Linked DNA regions of Homo sapiens: regions 2 and 3 are each linked to region 1. Evidence: promoter capture Hi-C in 16 types of primary human blood cells and fetal thymus (Javierre and others, 2016). All regions are on one chromosome and are shown on one strand. Each heading gives the region's core, a stretch centred on a gene start or on the middle of the fragment in contact. The rest is flanking DNA. Distances are from core to core; before and after follow the strand shown. Region 1 holds the start of PRR14L (proline rich 14 like). Region 2 has its middle 8.5 kb from the start of LINC02558. Region 3 overlaps DEPDC5 (DEP domain containing 5, GATOR1 subcomplex subunit).

What was found. The method cuts DNA at HindIII sites, captures the fragments that hold promoters and counts their contacts. A CHiCAGO score of 5 or more calls a contact.
Region 2: a contact is called between a fragment that was not itself captured here and the fragment with the promoter of PRR14L in region 1, in 1 of 17 cell types (endothelial precursors). The highest score is 6.3, in endothelial precursors.
Region 3: a contact is called between a fragment that was not itself captured here and the fragment with the promoter of PRR14L in region 1, in 1 of 17 cell types (erythroblasts). The highest score is 6.2, in erythroblasts.

Annotation. Positions count from the first base shown.
Region 1 is chr22:31,748,509-31,752,284 of GRCh38, reverse strand. PRR14L (proline rich 14 like) reads left to right here and starts at 2,153. Exons shown (of 9, transcript NM_173566.3): 1 at 2,153-2,292. RefSeq lists enhancers at 1,928-2,222, 1,712-2,271, 2,511-3,143. The HindIII fragment of the contact is 5,796 bases long and covers 1-3,193 here.
Region 2 is chr22:31,960,401-31,964,176 of GRCh38, reverse strand. No RefSeq gene overlaps it. Among named protein-coding and RNA genes, the nearest start is that of LINC02558, 8.5 kb to the left of the region's middle. The HindIII fragment of the contact is 975 bases long and covers 1,317-2,291 here.
Region 3 is chr22:31,891,958-31,895,733 of GRCh38, reverse strand. It overlaps DEPDC5 (DEP domain containing 5, GATOR1 subcomplex subunit), which reads right to left. Exons shown (of 43, transcript NM_001242896.3): 39 at 1,983-2,152. Among named protein-coding and RNA genes, the nearest start is that of YWHAH, 51 kb to the left of the region's middle. The HindIII fragment of the contact is 4,173 bases long and covers 1-3,708 here.

The DNA of each region.
Region 1 (3,776 bases), core at 904-3,403:
CTACAGGCCAAGCCACCACTCCTGGCTGAAATTGTTTATCTTGTAATAAAACATATGTGATACAGTGGATTGCAACAGTTACAAAATTTTTTAAGAATAACAATGTTATGTTAAAAAATGTTTCTATGTTGCCACTTCAGGAGATACACCTAGATCCCCCAAGATAGTTTTTGTCTTTAGCAATGGTGGTTGATGGGACATTCTTCCATCCCTGGGGAAGCTAATAGGATTCTCTCTTCTTAGCCCTCAAGGGAATTTGATTCCTTCTCCTGAGAGATGTCCATAATGGGACATCTTAAAAAGGCAAATTTTTTTTTTTTTTTGAGACGGAGTCTCCCTCTGTCGCCCAGGCTGGAGTGCAGTGGCCCGATCTCGGCTCACTGCAACCTCTGCCTCCCGGGTTCATGCCATTCTCCCGCCTCAGCCTCCCGAGTAGCTGGGACTACAGGTGCCCGCCACCACGCCTGGCTAATTGTTTATAATTTTTAGTAGAGAGGGGGTTTCACCGTATTAGCCAGGATGGTCTTGATCTCCTGACCTCGTGATCCGCCCGCCTTGGCCTCCCAAAGTGCTGGGATTATAGGCTTCAGCCACCACGCCCGGCCAAAAGGCAAATATTTTAACTTTTTAATTTGGCAACTCTCATAAAGAAACTCTGAAGGCCAGGAGTGGTGGCTCACGCCTGTAATCCCAGCACTTTGGGAGGCCGAGGCAGGCGGATCACTCGAGGTCAGGAGTTCAAGACCAGCCTGGCCAACATGGTGAAACCCTGTCTCTACTAAAAATACAAAAATTAGCTGGGCATGGTAGCATGCGCCTGTAATCCCAGCTACTCAGGAGGCTGAGGCTGGAGAATCTCTTGAACCTGGGAGGCAGAGGTTGCAGTGAGCCGAGATCCTACCACTGCACTCCAGCCTGGTGTCAGAACGTGGCCCCGTCTCAAAAAAAAAAAAAAGAAAGAAAGAAACGAAACTTTGAAGCATTCAATTTTTTTTTTTTTTTTTTTTTTTGAGACAGTGTCTTGTTTTGTTGCCCAGGCTGGAGTGCAGTGGGGGCACCATCATAGCTCAATGCAGCTTCAAACTCCTGGGCTCAAACGATCCTCCTGCTTCAGGCTCCCCAGTAGCTAGGAGCACAGGTGCATCAACACCTGAGCAATTTTTGTTTTGTTTTGAGAAAGAGTCTTGCTGTGTCATCCAGGCTGGAGTGCAGTGGCACTATCACTGCTCACTGCAGCCTCAACCTTCCAGCCTCAAGTGATCTTCCTGCCTCAGCCTCCAGAGTAGCTGGGATTACAGGCACACATCACCAGACCCAGCTGTTTGTTTTTTGGCAGAAACGATGTCTCACTATGTTGCCCAGGCTGGTCTCAAACTTCTGGGCTGAAGTGCTTCTCCCGCTTTCGCCTCCCAAAGTGCTGGATTACAGGCGTGAGACACCGCGCCTGGTCGATTTCTATTTTTTAACACAAAGCCGTATTATTTGGGGCAAGTCGATTTCATTATCTGGACCTCAATTCTTCCACTGGATAAACATTTCTTCCTTCCTTCAAATGTCCATTGAGCGTCTAGTTTTGTGCCGGACACTGCTCTTGGTGCTGAGCATTAAGTGATGAACAAAACAGACAAGGTGGAGGAAGATAAATGATAAACAAGTCAATAAAGAGATGAGACATAGAAATTTCAGCTAGTGTTAAAGCTATGAAGAAAATAAAACAAGGTTCTGTAACCAACTGGAGGCAGAGGTGCCATTTATTTAGTGGTCAGTGTGATTAGAAGAAGCAGAGGAGTGTCATGACCCAAAACACTCTTTCCAGTAGAATAAGATCTCTCGGGCTGCCAGAGTGGAAGCAGGCAGGCCCTTAGAATTGTAGCCGTCCAGACTAGAAAAACGGTGGACTGGAACAGGGTGACAGCAGCGAAGGCCGGCACTGGGTCCTGTGGCTCAGCAGGAGCAGAACCAAAAGTTGTGTTTCCCTTTAAGAGTTTGAGCCGCAGGGGCGGGGTTGAGGGAGGCTGGGGCTAGCAGAGGGCGGGAGGTCAGAATCAGGAAGAGCCTTCCCTTGGAGTGCGCGCGCGCGGTGCGGGGGCGGGATTTGGGCGAGTCCGCATGGCTGGCTCGGGCCCCGGATGAGGAAGTGCAGGGGGACCATAGAGACGAAGAGGTGGCGGCGGCCGGAGCGCCCCCGGCCTCTGTCGGCTCCGTAGGCTCAGGTAGACCTGGCGACGACGGGGCTGCAGCTGCAGGGGCTGAGCTGGCTGGGCAAGCGCGGGCCGCGGAGGAGGTCTCAGGGTAAGAGGCCGGGACTGGAAGGCTTCGGGCGTAGCCGCCCCGCCCCACTCCGCCCTAAAGGGACCCTCCGCCGGGTGGTGCTGCTAAAGGGGAGTCCAGGCCCCCCGCCCTCTCGGGGCGCGGAAAGGAACCAAGGCTGCCCTGTGGGCGGCGGAACGACCCAGGGAGAGGGAGGAGACCAGGCCCCGCGTCGCTAGAGAAAAGCGGCTTCTCCGAGTCATGGCTCCGACGCGGGAGAGAGACTCCTCTTCAACCTCGATACAACAGGGATCCCCCAACTTATCTCCTCGGAGAGGACGACGCCCCTTATCGGAGGCGTACGCTCTTTCTTAGCGCTCATCCGTTGGTCAGCAGAGGGAGACCCACTCCCAGGGTTCGAGGGGGATTCTGAACTTATCCTGAGGAGGAGTAAAAGATAACCCCTAAATGAGACCTTTCCCCCAACTTTGGTCAGCGTCACCCAGGTGAAGAGTGAGACCCAACTTGCCTGAAAGTGACAGAGGGGATCTTTCTTCCCAGTAAGAAAGAGACTTACCTTCCTCCTTTATTTTTCGCCTGTACCCCAAGATACGGAGAGGAAGACCTTGAAATTTTACTTTATGGTATCAGAAATCAACCTTTCTCCCTCTCCCCTCGTGATGTCCACAGAGAGACCCTCGCTTCTCTTCTTCCCTTTAAGCCTCTTGGTGTGCAGTGAGCTCCTTTCCCTTGCATTATTAAGAGCATGGCTTTTGGAGTGTAATCGTTGCAAACCTGGGTCTCTCACTTAACGTCTTTGTGACCTTGACTATTTGTTTAACTTGTCTGAATCTCAGTCCATCTCCAATTTGGGTTCTGTTTTCTTAGAATTGTCATGCGGGCTAAGGGAGCATTTGTGTAAATACTAGTTATATAGTAAGCTTTTGGTAAGCTGTTGCTATTACTATTACTTAATCTGTTAAAAAAGAAAACTAATATCTTGCACAGAGAAGCATATTTTTCCATGCATGCCCCTCGCAGCCTCCATCACAAGTGTTCAACCATCCTTTCTCACTGGAGTGGAAGACTCCCTCCCACTTAGGGGTTAGAGAAAGAGACACTTCCAGTCCCCTTAGATCCTGCTGTTCAATACTTTCCCAAATTAACAAAGAGGGCCTCACTGAAAATAATCAGTAAAAAAAAGACTTAGCTTTTGGAAACAGGTCTGTGCTCTTAAGAGAAAGTGAGACCTGATGCCAGACGCCAGCACTTCCTTTGTCCACAGAAGGTATCACTTCTTCCTGACTGGTTAGAGATGCCCTCTCCCACTTCCCTGACTTACTGTAGTGACAAAAAATCTTCCATCTGCACATCCTTCCCACCCCCCCAAGTGGGCGATTCCATATTCTTCCTGTCTTTTGCTCTCCCAAGAAAATGAAGACTCTATACCTTTGAGGAGAGATCTCTTCCCTCTTGTATATGGAAAATGACACAGATTGTTTCTTTTCTCCTTTTCCTTTATAAAA
Region 2 (3,776 bases), core at 555-3,054, 210 kb before region 1:
TACCATGGTGATCAGATGATGTCACTGTCCTGGAAACAGTTGCCTAGGAAATGTGTGATGTCACTTCCAGGAGATGATTCCCATGGTAACCATCTCAGTGGAATTGGGGGGTGGCCAGGAAATGGGGGCTGAGGGCGGATACAGAAGGGACAAATGTGAAGAGCGGAAGGAAAGGGGGAGGGGGAGAAATGCAGGAAAAAACCAGGAAGAGGAAGGGGACCTTCCCAGAGCAGTTGAAAATAATATACAGAATCTCAGAAATGGAAAGGTCCCCAGAGACCACTAAATGCAACAACCTCATTTTTACAGAGGCTGCTGAGAGGCCAGGACTTGCTCAAGGTCACACCGCCAGTTGACAGGTTAGAGCCAAGCCCAAGGCTGCATGACTGTCAGGTTTGGGTGGGGTAATAAAGGATTCCTTTCAGCCATTTCTCTTTGTTTTGTTTTGTTTTTTTCCCCGAGACAGAGTCTTGCTCTGTCGCCCAGGCTGGAGTGGCGCAATCTCGGCTCACTGCAACCTCCACCTCTCGAGTTCAAGCGATTCTCCTGCCTCAGCCTCCCGAATAGCTGGGATTACACATGTGCACCACCACACCCAGCTGATTTTTGTATTTTTAGTAGAGATGGGGTTTTACCATGTTGGCAAGGCTGGTCTTGAACTCCTGACCTTGTGATCCGCCCGCCTCAGCCTCCCAAAGTGGTGGGATTACAGGCGTGAGCCACCACGCCCAGCCTCAGTCATTTCTTTTTAAAAATTCTGACCTGTAATCAATGAGTTATTCATGAATTCATTACTGTGAGTTTGTGTGCTGGACCTGGAGAGGACCGTGAGTGACATTTTCCTAGTTACTTTATATCTTTTTAATGTATCTTCCCCACTTTTTTGTATCTCCCCACTCTAACACTGGAGTTAGCCCCCTGGTCCATGTCCATGTCTGTATAATTCACTAAGGTCTCTCCAGCCACCTGCCCAGTGTCTACCCCATAATGGCAGCTCTTCAATGTGTTTGTCAAATGAATGAAGACAGATAAATGCCATTGTGTGGTACAGACCCACAGTACTGGATCCCAAAGAAGGGATCGCAGTAGCTGACAGGGAGGAGGTAAGATTTCATAGATAGAATTCGAATAGGGCAAGAGAAGAAAGCCAGACAGGAGAGTAACGGCTTGAGCAAAAGTAAGAGCAGGCTGAACAAACTGGGTGCAGCTGGAGAGATTCCAGTTGGTGCTTTGATCCACCTCTTGAGTTATACTGTAACGGCAGTGCCTACTGTAACTGTAGTACCTCACTTTTTGAAGTGAAGGAGCTCCAAGCTTTAGGAGTAAGAAGCACATTAAGGTCCAGATTGCCTGGAGATGTGGGTGGGGCAGTAAAAAAGACCAATCTGGCTTAAAAGGCGAATGTAAAGAAGGTGATTGAGCAAAGGCTACCTGGCAAGGAAGAAAGAGGTCTTATCAAGGAAGACCTGGAGTGGCAGGCTTTCAGCCCCTGTCTTGAAGACAACATCGCATCATGAAAAGGATCTTGAAGCCCTGCACAAAGACATGCTCTGCCACTCCTCAGCTATGTGACCATAGAAAGTCACTTTTCCTCTCTGAGCTGCTAAATTGGAGCTATGACCTAATTCACAAGATTATTAGCTTGAACTTTAAAATGTAGGCTGGGCGTTGGCCGGGTGCAGTGGCTTACGCCTGTAATTCCAGTACTTTGGGAGGCCGAGGTGGGCGGATCACCTGAGGTCAGGAGTTCGAGACCAGCCTGACCAACATGGAGAAACCTGTCTCTACTAAAAATACAAAATTAGCTGGGCGTGGTGGCGCATGCCTGTAATCCCAGCTACTTGGGAGGCTGAGGCAGGAGAGTCGCTCGAACCCAGGAGGCAGAGTTTGCACTGAGCCAAGATTGTGCCACTGCCCTCCAGCCTGGGCAACAGAGAGAGACTCCGTCTCAAAAAAAAAAAAAAAATGTAGGCTGGGCGCAATGGCTTATGCCTGTAATCCCAGCACTTTGGGAGGCTGAGGCAGGAGGATCACTTGAGGTGAGGAGTTGGAGAGCAGCCTGGCCAACATGGTGAAACCCTGTCTCTACTAAAAATACAAAAATTAGCCAGGTGTGGTGCCATGCACCTGTAGTCTCAGCTACTCAGGAGGCTGAGGCAGGAGAATCGCTTGAACCTGGGAGGTGGACATTGCAGTGAGCTGAGAGTGTGCCACTGCACTCTAGCCTGGGCAACAGAGTGAAACTCTTGTCTCAAAAATAATAATAAAAAAATAAAAATGTACATAAAGCTTCACTTAGCAGGGTGACTGACTAGCTCACAAAAGACAGCAAATGTTATTTCCCCTCCCCTTCCTAGTACAGAATGGCATGGGAGTAGAACTTTGGGAAATGAATTTGACAATAGATTCCTTCAGGTTTGTTTGTTTGCTTGAGACAGGCTGTCACCCAGGCTGGAGTGCAGTGGTGTAATCAGGGCTCACTGCAGCCTCAACCTCCCAGGACCAAGCAATCCTCCCACCTCAGCCTCTCAAATAGGTGGGACTACAGGCATGCAACAACACAGCTGGCTAAATTTTTGTACTTTTAGTACAGATGGGGTTTTACTGTGTTGCTCGGGCTGGTCTCAAACTCCCGGACTCAAGCAATCCTCCTCCCACCTCGGCCTCCTAAAGTACTGGGATTACAGGTGTAAACCACCTTGCCAGGCTTGTTATAACATTTCTAGGACTCCTTTTCTCTAGTTGGGGATCAAAATATCCATGGCGTAGTGGAAAGAACCTTAAAGTAAGACAGCCCATTTCAATCTCAACCTTGCCTCTTACTAGCTATGCACGTTACATCACCGAATACCTGGTTTCCTCATGTGTTAAAAATATTAACATTCCTCACTGCTAAGGCTGCTGTAAAGATTCAGAGACCATGCATTCAAAGTACCCAAGACACAGTAAGTATTTGAGATGGTAATTTTTATTAGCCAGTCTAATGATTGGGTTTTATAATGAAAGAAGACCTGTTAAGTCACACCCAGCTCTGAATCATAGTGTTTGTGCTTGCCTGATAGTCACATCTGCTAAGATGAGGACCCTCTCAGTCTCTGGATGGCAGATTCTAAGGGTGTATGGGAGGAAGGTATGGAGGGCCTGATGGCCCACGCACAGCCTATTTAATCTTACAGAGCCAAGAGGAATCCTAGCTCCCTGATCCCGAAGGATTTAAGGACGGCCAAGAATTTACCCAACAATAGCTTCATTATCAAGAATCCTACCCCTTCCCCCAACTCAAAGAAATGGACTTTTGAGCAGGGTTTGAGGAGCTACTGGAAATCTGAAGCAATAGCAACAATAATTTTTTCTGGGGGGGGGGGGGGGGCGGGGACGGAGTTTTTGCTCTTGTTGCCCAGGTTGGAGTGCAATAGCGCGATCTCGGCTCACCGCAACCTCTGCCTCGCAGGTTCAAGCGATTCTCCTGCCTCAGCCTGCTGAGTAGCTGGAATTACAGGCATGCGCCTCCATGCCCGGCTAATTTTGCATTTTTACTAGAGATGGGGTTTCTCCATGTTGGTCAGGCTGGTCTCGAACTCCTGACCTCAGGTGATCCGCCCACCTCGGCCTCCCAAACTGCTAGGATTACAGGCGTGAGCCACCGCGCCCAGCCAACATCAATAAATTTAAACATCCCTTTTCAAGTATAATTTCTTCCATTCTAAGTGAAAACATTAAAAACACTGAAAGTCTCCTAAGGGTGAAATGTGTTGTATCCATTTTCTTTCTAGTCT
Region 3 (3,776 bases), core at 373-2,872, 140 kb before region 1:
GACAAAACTTAGCCTATGAGCTCTGGACAAAAAAAAAAACCTGCTGGCTCATGCTGTACTCATTTCTCTTTGCTTATCTCCTAGCTTTTAGTAAACTCTTTTTGAACTTCCCAGCTGTTCTCTGTTGTATGAAGAGATGGCTGGGCTGGTGTTGAGAGAAGCGAGATTCAGTAGAAGCCACAGAAGAATATTCTTTTTGGCTATATTGGAGAGTGTATAAAAAGGAGTGGCACACTATAAAGATGGTTAAGGAGCTGTCCTGGAAGATACTGACAACTTGGCTAAGGAGTGAGCACTGCGATGGGGGATGGTCAGGTATGGCTTCTTAGTGTAGGAGCAGTGAATGGCCTGATTACAGATGCAGGCCAGGATGAACTAGAAGGAGAAAGGACAGGCAGGAAGACCAGTTAAAACAGGGCTTCTCAACCTTGGCACTTGTGACATCTTGGGCTGGTTATTCTTTGTTGTGGGGGCTGCCCTGTGCATTATAGGATGATGAGCAGCTTTGCTGGTCTCTACCCACTAGACACCAGTAGCACCCACCCTGCCCTCACCCCTTTCTTTCTTTCCTTTTTTTTTTTTTTTTTTTTGAGACGGATTCTCGCTCTGTTGCCCAGGCTGGAGTGCAATGGCGCGATCTCAGCTCACTGCAACCTCCACCTCCCAGGTTCAAGCGATTCTCCTGCCTCAGCCTCCCGAGTAGCTGGGATTATAGGCAGTGCGCCACCACGCCTGGCTAATTTTTTGTATTTTTAGTAGAGACGGGGTTTCTCCATGTTGGTCAGGCTGGTCTCGAACCCCCAACCTTAGGTGATCCTCCTGCCTCGGCCCGGGATTACAGGCGTGAGCCACTGCTCCCGGCCTTCTTTTTTTTTTTCCTTTTTTTTTTAAGATGAAGTCTCACTCTGTCACTCAGGCTGGAGTGCAGTAGCATGATCTTGGCTCACTACAACCTCCATCTCCCAGGTTCAAGTGATTCCCCTGCCTCAGCTTCCCGAGTAGCTGGGACTACAGGCGTGCACCACCATGCCTGGGTAATTTTTGTATTTTCAGTAGAGACAGGGTTTCACCATGTTGGCCAGGCTGGTTTTGAACTCCTGACCTTGAGTGATCTGCCTGCCTCGGCCTCCCAAGGCGTGAACCTCCGTGCCCAGCCACCCTTTTCTGTCTTCAGATATTGCCAAATGATCCCGGGTGGCAAAATCCGCCCAGGTAAAGAACCACTGAGTTCAAAGCAGTGATGTTTATTAACAGGGGACTGGTTAACTATGGTTAAACAAATAATAGAAAACTCTCCAGCCCTTAAAAACAACGAGGCAAAACAAAAACAAACAAAAATCCCAATAACAATAATAATAAAAAAAATCCCAAGGCAGATTTATTTGTACTGACATGGAACACATAGGTGATAGAAAAAATGCAATGTAAGTAGTATGTATCCAATGCTACCATCTCTGCTGAAAAAAAAAAAAAGTAACGTGATTTTGTCCATGCTTAGAATCTCTCTGGAAGTTTACTCAACAAAGCAGAAGTAGATCCCAGGGAATGAGAGTGGGAAACAGACTTACTTTTCACTCTAAACCAGTGATTCTCAAGAGGGAGCAATACTCCCCCTTCCTGGGGACATGTGACAATATCTGGGGACATTTTGCTTACCACACCTGGGGCTGTGCTACTAGCATTTAGTGGGTAGAGGCTAGGGTTGTTGCTCAATTTCCCATAAGGTGCAGGACTCCCCCACAGAGAATTATCTGGCCTCAGATGTCAATACTGCTAAGGCTAAGAAACCCTGATTCTACCTTTTTTGATTGCTTAAAATTTTTACTATGTTTAAATTTTTTAAAAAGGTTACTCCAATAGTCCCGATGAATGGTAATAAGAGCCTGAACTAAAAAATTAAAGTGACATGAATCTCTATCAAGCATCTCCATGCCCACTGTGAGGTGAGCCAAAGGCCTGACAACATGCATGAAGGTTCTCACCATCTCGAAGAGTACTGCTGCGGTCACCGCCATCCAGTGCAGCTTGATCTCAAAGGCTGCATTCAGAGAAAAGTTGCCATGGTAATAACAGCTGCACCACTCCAGCCGGTCTGTGCGGTTGTTCACGTCAACATCCAGGGTCACAGTCCTCTGCTCTGGGACAGTGGCAGCTATGTCAGCACACAGGAGGGGCCCCAAGAGAGTGAGAAAAGGAGTGGGATGAAGAAGAACAAATAACTAAGTATCCAGATATGAAACTATATACAAGTGCCTAAAAGAAAACTGCAGATTCCAGAAGTTTCCTGGAAATCATCTAGATATTGGAAACCTTTCTGTAAAAGGCCCCATTATAAATATTTTACATTTTGTGAGACATATGGTTTCTGTTGCAACTACTCAACTCTGCTATTGTAGTGCAAAAGCAGCCACAAACGTTACATAATGAAGGTGCCTGGCTGTATTCCAATAAAACTTTATAAAAGCAGACTGAGTTTTAGGGCGGTTAAACTATTCTGTAGGATATCATGTTAGATACGTGTCACTATACATTTGTCCAAACCTACAGAATATACAACACCAGCCGGGCACAGTGGCTCACGTGTGTAATCCCAGCACTTTGGGAGGCCGACGCAAGCAGATCACGAGGTCAAGAGATCGAGACCATCCTGGCCAACATGGTGAAACCCCATCTCTACTAAAAATACAAAAATTAGCTGGGTGTGGTGGTGCACACCTGTAGTCTCAACTACTCAGGAGGCTGAGGCAGGAGAATCGCTCGAACCTGGGAGGCAGAGGTTGCAGTGAGCCGAGATCGCGCCATTGCACTCCAGTCTGGCAATACAGCGAGACTCCGTCTCAAAAAAAAAAAAAAAAAAAAATACACCACCAAAGAGTGAACCCTAAAATGTAAACCATGGATATTCTGGGTGACAATGATGTCAATGTAGGTTTATGGATTGTACCTTGTAAAAAATGGACTACTCCGTCTGGGGATGTTGATAGTGGGGGCAGCAGGTTGTGGGGGTGGAGGTCAAAGGATGCATAGTAATTTTCTTTCTTTCTTTTTCAGAGATGGAGTCTCACTATGTCACCCGGGCTGGAGTGCAGTAGCGTGATCTTGGCTCACTGCAACCTCTGCCTCCCAGGCTCAAGTGATTCTCTTGCCTCATTCTCCCAAGTAGCTGGGATTACAGGCATGCGCCACCACACCCGGCTAATTTTTGTATTTTTAGTAGAGACGGGGTTTTGCCATGTTGGCCAGGCTGGTCTCAAACTCCTGACCGCCGGTGCTCCACCCGCCTCGGCCTCTCAAAGTGCTGGGATTACAGGCTTGAGCCACCATGCCCGGCCAGATGTACAGGAACTTTCTATTAGATTCTGCTATGAACCGAAAACTGCTCTAAAAGAAATAGTCAATTATAAATGAACAAATGGTGAGCCAGATTTGGCTGCTTAAGCCATAGTTTACTTCTCCCTAAGTAATCCAACCCCTTCATTTACAGATGAGGAAATGGCAGCCAGGGAGGGAAGATGCCTTGGCCAAGATGATGGAATCAGAACCTCAGCCAGGCTAAACCCCAGATCTTTTTATTTCAGTGACCTATGAAGAAACACAATGGGCAAACAGCACAGACCACCAGTGACAAGTCTTGCTTTTCAGGTTTCAACCCAGGAAGACAGTAGTTCTACAATCTTTTCTCAAGAAATGAAACCTTATAATGAAGCTTAACACCCTGTCCTATCATTGACATGTTGCTCAAGGATGCTGGGTGAGTACCAAGCTTACTCATCCTA